2 separate regions of the Homo sapiens genome follow, and region 2 is linked to region 1. Evidence: promoter capture Hi-C in human tissues and cell types (Jung and others, 2019). All regions are on one chromosome and are shown on one strand. The core of a region is centred on a gene start or on the middle of the fragment in contact, and the rest is flanking DNA. Distances in the headings are between cores, read along the strand shown. Region 1 holds the start of BECN1 (beclin 1). Region 2 overlaps PTGES3L-AARSD1 (PTGES3L-AARSD1 readthrough).

What was found. Contacts are between HindIII fragments. The study calls those that stand out against the background at their distance.
Region 2: a fragment that was not itself captured here is called in contact with the fragment with the promoter of BECN1 in region 1 in 8 of the 25 tissues and cell types used here (H1 embryonic stem cells, IMR-90 fibroblasts, aorta and 5 more).

Annotation. Positions count from the first base shown.
Region 1 is chr17:42,821,500-42,826,865 of GRCh38, reverse strand. It overlaps BECN1 (beclin 1), which reads left to right and starts at 2,584. Exons shown (of 12, transcript NM_001313998.2): 1 at 2,584-2,711; 2 at 2,987-3,118. The coding sequence starts at 2,989. It overlaps MIR6781 (microRNA 6781), which reads left to right and starts at 2,923; the gene lies at 2,923-2,986. RefSeq lists enhancers at 1,655-2,221, 2,226-2,355, 2,222-2,790, 2,791-3,357. The HindIII fragment of the contact is 8,869 bases long and covers 1-5,366 here.
Region 2 is chr17:42,945,376-42,950,741 of GRCh38, reverse strand. PTGES3L-AARSD1 (PTGES3L-AARSD1 readthrough) reads left to right here. Exons shown (of 17, transcript NM_001136042.2): 17 at 14-216. The coding sequence ends at 149. AARSD1 (alanyl-tRNA synthetase domain containing 1) reads left to right here. Exons shown (of 12, transcript NM_001261434.2): 12 at 14-216. The coding sequence ends at 149. Among named protein-coding and RNA genes, the nearest start is that of AARSD1, 16 kb to the left of the region's middle. The HindIII fragment of the contact is 8,985 bases long and covers 1-5,366 here.

The DNA.
Region 1 (5,366 bases), core at 1,335-3,834:
AAGTAACTACTGCTTGAGCCCGGGAGGCGGAGATTCCAGTGAGCTGATATTGCACCACTGCACTCCAGCCTGGGTGACAGAGTGAGACCGTGTCTCTTTTTTTTTTTTTTTTTAAAAAAAGGCCGGGCATGGTGGCTCACACCTGTAATCCCAGCACTTTGGGAGGCCAAGGCGGGCAGATCAGGAGGTCAGGAGATTGAGACCATCCTGGCTAACATGGTGAAACCGTCTCCACTAAAAATATAAAAAATTAGCCGGGTGTAGTGGTGGGCGCCTGTAGTCCCAGCTACTCGGGAGGCTGAGACAGGAGAATGGCGTGAACCCAGGAGGCAGAGGTTGCAGTGAGCCGAGATGGCACCACTGCACTCCAGCCTGGGCAACAGAGCAAGACTCCATCTCAAAAAAAAAAAAAAAAGTAACTACAATAAGCAAATACATAGCAAAAAGTTCAGCCTTACCAGCAATCAATGATGCTAATTAAAATAACAAGGAAGTGCCATTTTTTGCTTTTGTTCCCCAAATATATGATACCCAATACTGGCCAAGGCAATATGAAAACAGGCTTCCTCATACATTACTGGAAGCAGAATATAGTTATGTGCAAGCACTTTGGAAAATGATTCCCAGTGTTAAGGAAGAGACATTAAATAGCTGACACACTCTTAATTCTGTAGTCCCAGTTATGAGTCTCTATCATAAGTAGCCAGCTCTTCATTGCAGGATTATTGTAATCACCCACAGGGGAAATAGTAGAATTTCCAGCGGTAAAAAAATACACTAAGGCAGTACATTTAGTGTAGTGTAATGTAGCCATGATAACTACAATAACTGTGTAGCAACATAGAAAAATGTTAAATTTAAAAAGCAGAAGCCTGGGCAACAAAGTGAGACCCCATCTCTTTTTTTTTTTGAGATGGCGTCTCGCTCTGTCACCGAGGCTGGAGTGCAGTGTGAGACCACATCTCTACAAAAAATTTTAAAAATTAGCTGGGCATGGTAGTGATCACCTGTGGTCCCTGCTACACTGGAGGTTGAAGCAAGAGGATTGCTTGAGCCAGGAAGTCAAATCTGCAGTGAGCCATGTTTGTTTGTTCCGCTTCACTCCAGCCTGGGTAACAGAGTAAGACACTGTCTCAAAATAAAAATAAAATAGACAATACTACATACAATTTTGGGTTAAGCAGTGGTTTCTTTTACACCAAAAGCATAAACATTGGACTTTATTGAAATGAAAAACTTTTGGCCAGGCACATTGGCTCACACCTGTAATCTCAGCACTTTGGGAGGCCACAGTGGGGGATTGCAAGGGGAGATGGGAAATGTTCTAAAACTGGATTATGGTGATAGTTGGGCAACTGTGTAAATTTACTAAAAATTATTGAACTGTACATTTAAAAAGTGTGAGTCTTATGGTATGTAAATTATACCCCATAAAGTTGTTTTTAAAAATGAAGTAAGTCCCTCTGCTCAAGACCCAGTCATCTCATCTCATTCAAAGTGAAAGCCAGAGCTTTACAATCCCTATAAGAGCCTAGGTGGTAGCTCAACACTCTTACCTCCCTCACCCCATTTTCTGTATCTCTTTTCGTTGCCCATCTTCTAGCCACACCAGCCTCTGCTAATCCCCAAACAGGTACCCTCTGTGCTCTTGCTGTTCCCTTGGCCTAGAATGCTCTTCCTTAAGATGCAGGTAAGAATTCCTTCCTCACCTTCTTCAAGCTTTTATTTGAATATCACTTTCTTTTTTTGTTGGTTTTGTGTGTGTGTGTGGGGGGGGGGGGTTTGAGATGGAGTTTCCTTCTGTCGCCCAGGCTGGAGTGCAGTGGCATGATCTCGACTCACTGCAACCTCCGCCTCCGGGGGTCAAGCGATTTTCCTACCCCAGCCTCCTGAGTAGCTGGGATTACAGGCGCACGCCACCATGCCCAGCTAATTGTATTTTTTAGTAGAGACGGGATTTAACCATTTTGGCCAGGCTGGTCTCGAACTCCTGACCTTGTGATCCGCCCGCCTCGGCCTCCCAAAGTGCTGGAATTACAAGCGTGAGCCACCATGCCCGGCCTTTTGTTGTTGCTGTTGTTGTTCTGAGATGGAGCCTTGCCCTGTCGCCCAGGCTGGAGTGCAGTGGCCCGATCTCGGCTCACTGCAACCTCCACCTCCCAGGTTCAAGCGATTCTCCTGCCTCAGCCTCCCGAGTAGCTGGGATTAAGCTGGGATTATAGGCGTGCCCCACCACGCCCGGCTAGTTTTTGTATTTTTAGTAGAGACGGGGTTTCACTGTGTTGGCCAGGCTGGTCTCGAACTCCTGACCTCACGTGATCCGCCCTCCTCGGCCTCCCCAAGTGCTGAGATTACAGGCGTGAGCCACCGCGCCCGCCGCCCCCTGAATTTAGAGAATAGCGGAGCCTCCCCATTCTCTGCGGCCTTGGCTCCTACACTTCCCGTGGTAACCTTGTTCATCCGCTGAAGCCCGCTGCTTTTCCCAGCCCGGCCTCTGGGGGCCGCTGCCGGGCCTGTGAGCCTGTGGACCAGGAGCTCCTGCTGCCGTCGTAGCGTCACGTCCGGTCTCGGGCGGAAGTTTTCCGGCGGCTACCGGGAAGTCGCTGAAGACAGAGCGATGGTAGTTCTGGAGGCCTCGCTCCGGGGCCGACCCGAGGCCACAGTGCCTCCGCGGTAGACCGGACTTGGGTGACGGGCTCCGGGCTCCCGAGGTGAAGAGCATCGGGGGCTGAGGTGGGACCTTAGAAGGGAGTCTGGGAACCCTCACGGCTCTTATTGGAGTCCCTTCCCTGACCCTGGGCTCTAAACTGCCTTTGCTCAGGCTGTCCCGGAAGCAGGTCCTCCCCGTATCATACCATTCCTAGAGGGAACGGCGCAGGTTGGGACTTCCCTCCCTTTACCATCGTCACCAAGGCATGTGGTAACCCCGGGCCGGAGGTCAAGGGCGTCGCTTCTCCCTAATGTTGCCTCTTTTCCACGGCCTCAGGGATGGAAGGGTCTAAGACGTCCAACAACAGCACCATGCAGGTGAGCTTCGTGTGCCAGCGCTGCAGCCAGCCCCTGAAACTGGACACGAGTTTCAAGATCCTGGACCGTGTCACCATCCAGGAACTCACAGGTCAGCGAGACCCTTGGAAAGAGGGTGGTCAAGAATGTGGAAGGTGGGCAGCTTTGGTGATATAATTCTTATGGTGGCTGTGTAGTCTGCCACAAACTCATCGTGTGAACCTAGGAAAGTCACTTCATCTGGCTCCCTGTTTTCTCCTTGGAAACATAAAGCATTCTGACATTGTGGACTTCTGAGAGCTTTCCGACCGGGCGCGGTGGCTCACGCCTGTAATCCCAGCATTTTGGGAGACCGAGGCGGGCAGATCACCTGAGGTCAGGAGTTCGAGACCAGCCTGGCCAACATGGCGAAACCCCTCTCTACTAAAAATACAAAAATTAGCCGGGCGTGATGGCACGTGCCTGTAGTCCCAGCTACTCGGGAGGTTGAGGCAGGAGAATCGCTTGAACCGGTGAGGTGGAGTTTGCAGTGAGCTGAGATCGCACCACTGCACTCCAGCCTGGGCAACAGAGCGAGGCTCCGTCTCAAAAAAAGAGAGCTTTCAGTAGCAAAAGAAAGATCCTTATTTTCTGCTCCTGCTGTTTCAGAGAAAAGGAATATGTATATATAATAATAAATGGTATTTTTTGAGGACTTACTATATAGTAATACCAAGTGCATTACACGTATTACTTCATTTAGTCCCTGTAACAACCCGTACGGGGTATACCGTCATTACATCATTTTTCAGATGAAGAACCGAGGCACAGAGAGGTTAAGTGACTTACCTAAGGTCCAACAGCTGGTAAATGGAGTAGAGTCTTAAAGTCTGAAGAATTTGCTGGATGTGATGGCTCACGCCTGTAATCTCAGTGCTTTGGGAGGCTGAGGTGGGAGGATCGCTTGAGCCCAGGAGTTCAAGACCAACCTGAGCAACCTAGCAGAGATCTTGTCTCTAAAAAAAAAAAAAAATTGCTGGGTGTGGTGGGTGGTGGAGGCTGAGGCAGGAGGATCACTTGAGCCCAGGAGGTCAAAGCTGCAGGAAGCTATGATCATGCCACTGCACTGCAGCTTGGGCAACAGTGCAAGACCCTGTCTCAAAAAATAAATTAATTAAAAAGGCCAGGAGTGGTGGTTCACACCTGTGATCCCAGCACTATGGGAGGCTGAGGCAGGTGGATCACTTGAGCAGGAGTTTGAGACCAGCCTGGGCAACACAGTAAGACCCTGTCTCTATAATTAAAAAAAATAAAAAACCCCAAAATCCCGCAAAGTCAGAAGAATTCAGATTAAGTCAGACAGTAAAAGAGAAGACTGAATAGGCAGCTTAAATAAGCTTATGGGCCTGGAGTCAGCCTGCTTGGGTTTAAATCCTGGCTGTCATTTACTAGCTGAACAACTTTTTGCAAGTTACTTCATTTCTCCAAGCCTTGGTTTCTGATTTTTTCTGTAAAACGTTAAACTGCCTCATAAAGAATTTATAAAGTTCAAATATGACAAACCACAGAAACACTTAGGAATTTGCTGGGCAAATAGTATTCAATAAGTATTAGCTGCTATTATTACCTGGTTTCTCTTTCTTGAGGGGAAATTAGCTCTTTTTTTTGTTTGTTTGTTTGAGACGGAGTCTCACTCTGTTGCCAGGCTGGAGTGCAGTGGCGCGATCTCGGCTCACTGCAACCTCTGCCTCCCGGGTTCAAGTGATTGTCCTGCGTCAGCCTCCTGAGTAGCTGGGACTGCAGGCACACACCGCCACGCCCAGCTAATTTTTGTATTTTTAGTAGAGACGGTTTCACTATGTTGGCCAGGATGGTCTCGATCTCTTGACCTTGTGATCTGCCCGCCTCAGCCTCCCAAAGTGCTGGGACTACAGGCGTGAGCCACCGCGCCTCTTAAACTCTTTTAATAACAATTTTTGACTTTTTATTATGGAAAATTTGAGACATATATAGTCAAGAGAATAGCATAGCCTGCCTTGTATTCATCATCCAGCTTCAATAATCAGCCATATTCTCACATTCTTATGTTGTCTACACCTCCATTCACCTCCCATCCTCTGCTCAATTATTATGTTTTTCACACCTTTTTAGAAAGGTAAATTGTCATGACTTGAAATGTATGAATCTTAGCTGTACATTTTTGACAAATGGATACACTGATGTAATCTGGATCGTTGCAATTTAGCAATGTTTCATCTTCCTAGAAAGTTTCCTTATGTTCCCTCCTTGCTATTCTGGGGGAAACAGGATGTTTGCTTTTGTGATGGAAAATTTCAGAGTATATCATGAACTCCTGTGTACCCATCACCTAGTTGCAACAA
Region 2 (5,366 bases), core at 1,585-4,084, 120 kb before region 1:
CTCTGTTCCCCAGGGTGGCTGAGGTCCTGGAAGGCAAAGGAGCAGGGAAGAAAGGCCGTTTTCAGGGCAAGGCCACCAAGATGAGCCGGCGGATGGAGGCGCAGGCGCTTCTCCAGGACTACATCAGCACGCAGAGTGCTAAGGAGTGAGGGCTTAGGGCACTCACCTCCTGTTTCCACAGGAATCTTTTGGTCAATAAAATAGATTGACTCAGAATGGTTGCGCTACCACTTGTATTTATATGACTAATTCGTACTGTATACTCCATTGTGCTTGTGTGGTTACTTTCCGTTTATAAATAGATAATTTTCTAATTTAGTTCATGCACTGTAATGTTTAGAAGGTGGTGGATTAATTTATACCAAACCTTGTGCTTTTGCACTCAGTTGGATAAGAAATGAACATCTGATCAGCTGAGTCCACTGCTCCCATAATTTTGTTATAATCCACAAAGGCACATGGCTTTTTCCCGCCCCTACCGCCCCACCCCCTGAGATGGACTCTTGCTTTGTTGCCCAGGCTGGATATAGTGGTGTGATCTCAGCTCACTGCAACCTCTGCCTCCCGGGTTGAAGGGATTTTCCTGCCTCAGCCTCCAGAGTAGCCAGGATTACAGGTGTGTGCCACCATGCCTGGCTGATTTTTTTGTTTTTGTTTTTTGTTTTTGTTTGAGATGGAGTCTCGCTCTGTCACCAGGCTGGAGTGCGGTGGTGCGATCTTGGCTCACTGCAACCTCTACCTCCCAGGTTCAAACTAATCTCCTGCCTCAGCCTCCCGAGTAGCTGGAACTACAGGCTCGCACCACCATGCCAGCTAATTTTTGTATTTTTAGTAGAGATGGGGTTTCACTATGTTGGCCAGGATGGTCTCCACCTCTTGACCTCGTGATCCGCCCACCTTGGCCTCCCAAAGTGTTGGGATTACAGGCATGAGCCACTGTGCCCAGCTGGCTTCTTAGTTTTCTTTCCATTTCTGTTGTCTACTTCAATCACAGTATCACTGTGGAATGTTGACAGCATTGTCACCTTCTTGGGGTAAGTGCTGCAGTTGCAAGCATCACTGGCGAGTATTCTCAGGGCAAACAGGAAAAGGGTTAAAGTAAGAATCAGAGATTAAGAGGGACGTGTAATGATGAAAAATATAACAGTTCTAAATTTGTATGCATCTAATAACAGCCTCAAAATACATAAAGCAGACATTGACAGATCTCAAGGGAGAAACGGACAAATCTGTAATCAACGGAAGACTTAAGCTCATCTTTCATTAGTGATAGAGCAAATGGAAGCATAATATGTTCAGGAGCACAGGCTTTGAAGTTTCACAGACCTGGGTAGAAATACTGGATTTGCACATCCAGGAAAGGTGATAAAACAAAGATCCAGTCACAGCTTTAGCTAGAACAAAGATGGTTAAGGCCTAGACAGCCAGGATGAAATAACAGAGGAGAAATACAAAAGCTGACATCCAGGGGAGATAACCTGTGGCTGTGGCTGTGGCTGTGTTCAGCTATTTGTTCTTCCGACTCTGAAAGGAACTTTTTTTTTTTTTGGAGATAAGAGTCTTGTTCTGCCACCTAGGCCGGAGTGCAGTGGCATGATTTTGGCTCACTGCAACCTCCGCTTCCTGGGTTCAAGCAATTCTTGTGCCTCAGCCACCCAAGTAGCTGGGATTACAGGTGTGTGCTACCAAAAATTTCCTTCAACCCTGCCACTGAGTTACCCAATTTCTTTCTCCAGAATCAATCACTTAATTTTTTTGTTTTAGATGGAGTTTCGCTCTTGTTGCCCAGGCTGGAGTGCAATGGCGCAGTCTCCGCTCACTGCAACCTCCGCCTCCCGAGTTCAAGCAATTCTCCTGCCTCAGCCTACCGAGTAGCTGGGATTACAGGCATGTGCCACCATGCCCGGCTAATTTTGTATTTTTAGTAGAGATGGGGTTTCACCATGTTGGCCAGGCTGGTCTCGAGCTCCTGACCTCAGGTAATCCGCCGGCCTCGGCCTCCCAAAGTGCTGGGATTACAAGTATGAGCCACCATGCCTGGCCTTTTTTTTTTTTTTTTTTCCAGATATAGTCTCACTCTGTTGCCCAGGCTGGAATGCAGTGGCACAATCATGGCTTACTGCAGTCTCAACCTCCTGGGAACAGGTGATCCTCCCACCTCAGCCCTCTGAGTAGCTGGGACTAGAGGTGTGCACCACCACACCTGGCTAATTTTTTGTATTTTTTCTAGAGACAGTGCTTTGCCGTGTTGCCCACACTAGTCTTGAACTCCTGGGCTCTAGCAATTTGTCCACTTTGGCCTCCCAGTGTTGGGATTACAGGCGTGAGCCACCATGCCCAGCCTGTTACCAATTTCTTATATATCCCTCTGGTAGTATTTTAAAAAATAGATGTACATAAATCTTCCCTCTTTTTAAACATAAATGGTAGCACATTGTATACTCTTCTGCATCTTGCTTTTCTCAGAGTGCCATGTTTTAGATAAAACCATAGTGTAACACTCATGCTATACAAAATGGGTCCATTAGTGGGAGAAAGGGAAATGTTTGCTTCACAGAAGCTTCCTTACTTTTGTAGAAGGACTCAGGCAGGATCTTGAACAGAGACCCATGTGAATTTGTCTCTGTGTGAGATCTCTGTCCCTCTCTGTGTTTGTTTCTTTAGGGTGTGCCTTAGTCTGATCTGACTGCTATAATAACAAAAACTAGGTAGCTTATAAACAACAAAAATGTATTTCTCACAGTGGAGGCTGGGAAGCTGGCAAATTCAGTGTCTGGTGTGAAGGTTCAAATACTGGTTCAGGAATAGCCATCTTTTTGCACCCTTGGTGCAAAGGGTAAGGGGTCTTTCTTGGGCCTTTTTTTTTTTTTTTTTTTTTTGAGACAGATGGAGTTTCACTCTTGTTGCTCAGGCTGAAGTGCAATGGTGCAATCTCAGCTCACTGCAACCTCCACCCCCTAGGTTCAAGTGATTCTCCTGCCTCAGCCTCCCGAGTAGCTGGGATTACAGGCGCCTGCCATCCCACCCAGCTAATATTTTGTATTTTTAGTAGAGATGGGGTTTCACCATGTTGGCCAGGCTGGTCTCGAACTCCTGACCTCAGGTGATCCGCCTGCCTCAGCCTCCCAAAGTGCTGGGATTACAGGCATGAGCCTCCGCACCCAGCCCTCTCGGGCCTCTTTTATAATGCACTAATTTCATTCACGAAGGCTCTGCCCCCGTGACCTAATCACCTGCTAAAGGGCCCACCTCCTGATACCACTTAGGGGGTTAGGATTTCAACATATGAATTTTTAGGGGTACACAAAGATTCAGAACACAGGTGCAACAACAAGAACAGTGACCTGGGAGGCCACTCTTGCTCACTACCACTCAGGTGGGTTCTTGTCACTTAGACCTAGAGCAACCATGTAATTTTAATATCCAGAGTTAGGCAAACCTCATGCCAGAACAACAGTCAGAAACCCAGACGGTGTTAAGGTAGCCTGGATGTCTGGTCCCCCTGCTGAGACTCCCTGAGCTTCAGTTTCTTGACCTGAAAATGGACACATGAACTGGGTGTCCTAAGAAGGAAGGAACCTTATGAAATAATTAAGAAAAGCCATAAACACTTGAGCAAATTATGTGAAAATGGTAATTGGTTGTATAAAGAAAGAGAAAATAAAGCAGCAGTTTTTGAACTGGTGATGTCATTCTTGCCTGTCACTGAGGCCCTAATCCAATGCCCCAGGGAGAGGGGGAGAAGAACAGAGTGTGTTCAGGGGAAGGGGTGGATTGTCTTTTATGAGGTTCACCAGGAAACAAAATGAGTTCATTTATTGGAGTAATCAAGTTTTAGGTACACACACAGGTTATATATTCTGGAATGTTACTATAACCCACTTTACGGCACAGAAATAGTAAGGGGGACTCCTTGGCTTCTAAGGAAATTTTTTTATGTGCGTACCCATAAATTGCTGAAGACAGCTGCTGTAGCTTCCACTAAGGTGATGCATGTAGGTACTAGAACAGATGTTAGTATGAAAGATGAAAGGTATCAGGTGGAAGAGACCCAGAGCAGTAGACAGACTGAATTCAGGGCCGGCGCTGTGGCTCATGCCTGTAATCCCAACACTTTGGGAGGCTGAGGCAGGTGGATCACCTGAGGTCGGGAGTTTGAGATCAGCCTGACCAACATGGGAAAAACCCCGCCTCTACTAAAAATACAAAATTAGCCAAGTGTGGTGGCGCATGCCTGCAATCCCAGCTACTCTGGAGGCTGAGGTAGGAGAATTGCTTGAACCCGGGAGGCGGAGGTTGCAGTGAGCCAAGATCGCGCCGTTGCACTCCATCCAGCCTAGGCAACAAGAGCAAAGCTCCGTCTCAAAAACAACAACAACAACAACAACAACAACAAACACACACAGACTGAATTCAGGAAGGCATTGTGCCAGTGTCCTGTGCTCCACCCTGCCTTGGAGTCCTGAGTGGAAACCAGTGAGTCGGCCAAGCTGTGCTAGAATGCCAGATCTGTCCCTGAATGAGAACTTAAATAAACTCTAGGGTTTATTTAAAACCTGGTACCAAAAGGAAAACAGACAGTGTTTGCCCTAATGAAAAAAATCTTTTTCAGAAAGCGTCTCTGTCTCCCATTCCTTTCCTGAATTTGATCCAAACTATGACTAGTGTTCTCAACAGAGGGCAAGTAGGGATGTTTGGGAACGAGTGATGGAGGAATTTCCTTCTTTCTTTAGAAAGGTCTGTATCTTCTGTGCAAAATACTACAGGCAGAGTGCCAGGCTTCAAACTAAGGAATAAGTAGGACTTAGTTAACTGACCTGGAGTTGTGTCTGGAGCAGAAGAGGCTCTCACAGGGACAGCTTTCTCTTTTGCTGAGCCATAAACTCCCTGCAGAAGTGACCTGTGGCAGAGGCCTGTTAGTAAATATCCCTGTTCATTTTAAAACACCAACCTCAAAGCCAAGAGTTTGGAGGAGGGAGAGGGGTTGAGGAGTTGTTGGTCAAAGGATACACACTTTTAGTTAGATAGGAGGAATAAGTTTTTTGATTTTTTTTTTTTTTTTTTGTCTGCTTGTGGGCTTGTTTGCTTTTTTTTTTTTTTTAGACAAGGTCTTACTCTGTTTCCTGGGCTGGAGTGCAATGGAAATCTTGTCTCATTGCAGCCTCGACTTTCCTGGGCTCAAGCGATCCTCCCACTTCAGCCTCCTGAGTAGCTGGGACTACAAGCACACACCACCGCACCTGGCTACTTTTTCTACTTTTGTGGAGACAGGGTCTTGCCATGTTGCCTAGGCTTGTCTTGAACTCTTGAGCTCAAGTGATCTTCCTGCCTTGGCCTCCCGAAGTTCTGGGATTACAGGCCTGAGC